Regions from separate parts of the Homo sapiens genome. Here region 2 is linked to region 1. The links are contacts of gene promoters, found by promoter capture Hi-C in blood cells and fetal thymus (Javierre and others, 2016). All regions are on one chromosome and are shown on one strand. Each heading gives the region's core, a stretch centred on a gene start or on the middle of the fragment in contact. The rest is flanking DNA. Distances are from core to core; before and after follow the strand shown.

The links. Contacts are between HindIII fragments. The CHiCAGO score rates a contact against its expected background, and 5 or more counts as called.
Region 2: a fragment that was not itself captured here is called in contact with the fragment with the promoter of MPDZ in region 1 in 3 of 17 cell types (total CD4 T cells, endothelial precursors and activated CD4 T cells); the score reaches 5.2 in total CD4 T cells.

Annotation. Positions count from the first base shown.
Region 1 is chr9:13,278,363-13,281,062 of GRCh38, reverse strand. MPDZ (multiple PDZ domain crumbs cell polarity complex component) reads left to right here and starts at 1,371. Exons shown (of 47, transcript NM_001378778.1): 1 at 1,371-1,663. RefSeq lists enhancers at 1,748-2,463, 2,464-2,700. The HindIII fragment of the contact is 3,139 bases long and covers 426-2,700 here.
Region 2 is chr9:13,940,203-13,942,902 of GRCh38, reverse strand. The region is part of intron 1 of LINC00583 (long intergenic non-protein coding RNA 583); the gene reads right to left. It overlaps LOC101929507 (a long non-coding RNA gene), which reads left to right. Exons shown (of 8, transcript XR_001746621.2): 5 at 2,395-2,500. Among named protein-coding and RNA genes, the nearest start is that of LINC00583, 14 kb to the right of the region's middle. RefSeq lists an enhancer at 2,539-2,700. The HindIII fragment of the contact is 4,835 bases long and covers 1-2,700 here.

The DNA of each region.
Region 1 (2,700 bases), core at 122-2,621:
TATCACGGCTGCATTTTTTTTTGCAATCTAGGTTTGAGACAAGCAAACAGGGAAGCCAAATAAACACTTGAATATATGGATAAATCTGAAGGTATAAATGTAAGATTCTGTAGGTACGAGATCATAAGCTAGAAGTGAAAATGTATTTAGAGGTAAGAGTTAAAAGGAAAAGAGGGCCCGTAACTGATTTTTAAGGAATTCCAGCATCTAAAGATTGGGGGAGAGGAGGCAAAGAAGACTGAAGAGTGGCCTGGGGACAGGGGCAGATCTACCTGGAAATTGATGTAGCTTAACGTTCCGGGTCCTTCTCTTGCCTGGGAGCAACCCTAGCAATGTGTTTACATGGGCATTTATTTTTTGAATTTTTCTAAAGAAAGATTTTTTTTTTTTTTTTGGTTAAAGCAGAGCTCCCAATTGTACAAGCTTCAGAGCCCATACATCCGCCCTTGACTAAGCGGAAGAAGCAAAACCAAGAGTGTGATTGCATGGAATTACAAGAGGGGTGGGGTGGGGAGGACTCTAGGAAGAGAGAGGTCAACAGCTGTGAATGTGTTTGAAAGTCCAAGGAATATGAGAAAAAAGTATTTTTATTCAGAATATTAAAAGAAATTCTTTTAAATGTTCTAAATTGGACTTCTGAGTATCCTTTGGTCCTATAATCTAATATCAGAGGGATATTTTGAAAAAGAGTTTCTTATGCAGAAAAAAATTCGTGGGACTTCCAAATTGAGGATAACAGAAAGAAAATCTTAAGTGGCACAAAATAGAAATGAATATCTGTTCTTCCTGGGGCCATGCAACTCTAATAACTTTTCCATGTTTACTGTTTTTGCTTTTTAATTGGATCATCAGACTAAGAATGCACCCTGATGTGCGAAAAGTTACTTAGAAAGTGAGAGGACTGCCCCCACCCTTCTGATTAAAGCGCTTCTCATAAGCATCCTATGCCATTCAGTAAGCTACCCATGCAGAAAGCATCCACAGGGCAGTGCACATAAGGAAAATCTGAGGAGCTAGAAACAGGCTATCAGTTTCCGCAGGTTGACAAAATCGGCAGATAAAAATACAAGACTGCCATTAAATTTGAATTTCCGATAAACAACGAAGAACTTTTTAGCATAAGTACGTCCCAAATATTGCATGGGATATACTTGTACTAAAATTATTCCTTTTTTTTTTTATTTGAAATTCCCATTTAACAGAGCAGCCTATATTTTATCTGACCACCTCACAAGTCCACTACCCACACCCCAGGTCGAGCGGCCCAGGAGCGAGTTTAAAACCCCGCACAGGCCTGCTCGGCCGCGTCCCCTGATTGGCCAAGGCGCGCCCGCCGCCCCGCCGGTCGCAGGCGTCACGGCAGCCCCAGCAGCCTGGGCCCCGCCACCGCCTCCGCGGCAGCCCCGGTCGGCGCAAGTGCGGCGCGCGCTGGGGGAGGGGGCGCGGCGGAGCGCTAGGCTGGCGTCGGGCCACCGCGGGATTAAGTTTCTCAGTCACGCGTGAGTGTCTGTGCGTTTTGATCCGAAGCTCCTCGCCGGGTCGTTACTTCAGAAGAGAAGACAGTGAGCGTGGGCGAGGCGAGGCATCCAGAGGCCCCGGCGACCCCTGCTCCCCAGTCCTCCGCCCCCTCGCGTCGCGGCCCTGGGCGGGCGCCGCGAGCCGGGTAAGCGGCGCTTGAGCCCCGGCCCAGAGGCCGAGGCGCGCCCCCGCGCCCTGCGCGCGCGCCGGCGGGGAAGGTGCGCGGGCGCCCTGGGCTCGGCGCTTGGGGGTGGGGGTGGGGGCGGGGATGGGGGTGGGGGTGGGGGTGGGGGTAGGGGTGGCGGCGGGCCGTGGGGCGGTGGGGCGGTGCGCTTGCCCCACCCCGCGCGGCCCGGCGCTTCGCGGAAGCCGCTGCTGTGGCTTTTTTAAAAGGATGGGGTCTAGAAGTTTCCTTTGCTACTCGCAAGTCTCCACTCCCCCCAGCCCCGCGGTGGATAATCCTAGACCTTTCAGCACCCCCGCCACCCCTTTCTTTTGCTCTCGCTGACTAAGAGGTTTAAAAGTTTTTCCTTTTCCTTGACCCAGAGGGGCACAGTCTTGGTGTCGGGGGGCTGGGGGTGGGGTGTTAGCCTGGGGGCCCGGAGCGCAGACCAGGCCTCCAGGGCGCGGGAGCCTGTTGCTCTCCCCTGCAGGGGCCGCTCCCGGACGCCCCATCCGCCGTTACGTGGTCCCGGGATGTGCGGGTTGCGGTAGAGAGTGGGCAGCAATGCTCCTGGTCCTGCGTTCTCGCCTTAGCCGCGGGGACCCCGAGGCGAGCCGCTAATTGGTACCGGTGCCCCGTCCCTCACCCCTGGCACCGGCGCCCTTTTAACCGCCGCTCCCGTTGGTGGGAGCACGTTGGTCTTGTCTCTCCCTTAGTCTCCTCACCCCCCGCGCTGATGGGCGTCTTTGTCTGCGATTTGGCAGCCCCAGGATGCCGGATGTTACCAGGGAAGCGATGTTTGGGAGACGCTTTGTGTCTTGCGGAGTTGCGCGTTTGTTGGGTGGTGATGGTGTACATTTTTGTTTGCGTTCTTTGCAGAGGCACAAAGGCTGGGCTATTCTTGCCTGCAGTCACATGGAAATCAAGCGGAGACTGCGGGGGAGGAGAAGTGGCCAGGCGCCGGCGGGAGGTAGAGGCCGCTCCGTAGTCACTGGGGGCGAGTGGGGGCCCCTGGAGAC
Region 2 (2,700 bases), core at 87-2,586, 660 kb before region 1:
GGGATGGAGTGGGATGGTGTGAGATTTCATCACACTACTCAGAATGGTGAGCAATGTAAAACTTATGAGTTCTTTATTTCTGGAATTTTCCATTTGATATTTTTGGACCATGGTTGACCGCAGGTAACAGAAACCACAGAAATCAAAACCGTGGATAAGAGGAGACTACAGAAAGATTTCTCCTTCTGGAGGTAATTTATGCTTCAGTGTGGTGTTTGTCACAATTACTGAAAACTAGATAGACTTGCCTTGGAGCAATAGGATGTGTTTTTTCCCTGTGTTTCTTGTTTTGGTGTAGCAATGGCTATGTAAAACAGCTGGATAGATATTCTTATATAGAGAACCCAAAGAAAATTCAGTGGCCAAATATCCAGATGAAAAGAGAAGCATTCAGTTAATCATCTGGATGTTTTGTCTACACAAGGAGAAATCTGTGGATGTTTCCAAATATTTGAGAAAATATTTGGGAACATCCAGATGTTTGGCCCTATGCAGCTCAAACATTCAGATGTTTGACTAAATTTCGCCTTCCAACCGGATGCTTCGGCATCAGATAGACCCAGCCTTGGTTATCGTAATTACGCATTGTTAACTGGTGTCACAGAAAATTGTTTGGGGGAAAAACACGACACACCAAAATGTGGAGGTTATAAATAATCACAAACATTACTAGTGAGGAAAGAAGGAGGGAATAACACCTCTGACCAATCAGGATGCATCATCACTAATATAAATTGTCAGCAGTAGTGTTCTCTTTGCAGAAGGTCTAATAATTAAAAATAATAAACATAAGCTGGTGGCTCCTACTAATGAAAACGAAGCCAGTAGCACTTGCAGTGTTTACAAAACATGAAGGATGTGAAAAGGAACATCCTCTGCTTTGAAATGAGTTGAAAATTCTAAACTTCATGGAAACGGGTTGAATGAGAGTTCAGTTTCCTCCTCTTATTTTAATGTGGCCTTGCAGTGTCTCCGATTACAGTGTTCTTAAACTTGTGGGAATCAGCCTAATAAAAATACTTAAAGAAATACAGCTCATCCCTCAGCTGTGGGCCGGCTGTGTAGATTACCATGGTGCAGGAGTCAGGATCTGCCTCCAGAAAGCAGACTCCGTTTTCTACACAGCAGTAACATGAACTTGAACGGAGGCGTTAAATGAGAAGATCATGTTTTGATTCTAATTAAGATTTTAAAACCTGATTTTTAGCCAACTTGTTGTTGGTGAAAAACAGCAATGCCATAAATAAAATAGCCACAGATGGACCCGGATATTTGTTTGAACAACCATAAAAATTCTTTCATTTTAATTGATTGATACTGGACAAAAGTAGTATTCAGCCAAAACCTTACCGCTAGTCTTATAATTATTTTTTTAACCAGTTCACCACTACATTCCAGGGGAACTTCAAGACATCCTACTGAGGTGTCTGGTACAACGTCTGCACCTGATTACATGTTTGACTTTGCATACCAAGCCTGAAATTGTTCAAGAAAATTAATCTCTTATATACTTGCAAAATCCTATCTGGAAAGTAACCTAGATGTGGTCTGGGGTTCATTTTCAAAGTGAACAATCTTCAGAGAACCTGGGACTGGATCGTACTTAGGAATAATATGGTCTGTCATTCTTTGTAGGATGGGAATGACTGTTGTAAAGCCGATGCTAATTTTTCAAGGAACTTCTCTAGAAGATGCAGAAAGAAGCAACAGACCTTAAAATCTAAAAGCATTTAATATTTTTAATTGCTTTCTGAAGAATTAAACTCTGGTTTAATTTGAGAAAGCATCTCAAACATTTTTCGTATCAGAGCAAAAGTTACCTAAGTATGATCCAGTTAGAAGACATGCATATTTTAAAATACCTATGATACACTCAGCTTGTTTTTGTTTTTAAAGAAACAGAAAATATGACTTTGGTTCTAAAAATGCCTTCATTGGAGTAGAGGAGGAAATATAATTGCTACACAAATTGTATGGATTCAACGGAGGAGTCAGCTATGATTTCTTTCTCTGATGACAATGAAACTTTTCACCTTTATATGCCAACTAACTGGAAAAATTTTCCTACAATGTTGTGCTCAGAAGTGTGATAGGAGAATTGAAAGTAATCAGTGTCAATTAGAAAGACCTTGGACATCATTGGGAATGCCTATTAGAAGGGATAAGAGCATGCTAGAAACAGATGGCTTGAGCAAGATTGTTGGCTCTGTCTCTTCTAGCTTCCTGACCTCATGTAAGATATATAACATCTCTATGCCTTGGTTTCCTTATCTGCAAAAAGGGGATAATAATAGTAGTACATAGTGGATAGGACTGCAGCCAGGATTAGATAACAGAGTATATGTAAATCTCGTAGATCAATGCCTGCTACATGAGTAACTTTTTAATCCACAGTACATGAATCAAATTGCATTGAATCAAAAGTTTTGTGAAGATTTGAGATGAGAATGAGAGCCAAATAAGCCATATCATAAGAAGCTGTGATCAGAAATAAAATGAGGTATGTTTTGACACTTAATGACATTCTAAAAGATTGGGCGGCAGCAAGATGTACACACGTCTCTGCAGAAAATGTGGTGAGGAGGTAGGGGGTTGGGCAAGGGAGATCAATCTCACAGCTTTCAAGTAGGATTCTGTGGGTGGGGAAGAAAACTAGAATTCACAGAGAAGGAACTGGCTGATATTATTATTATTTTTTTT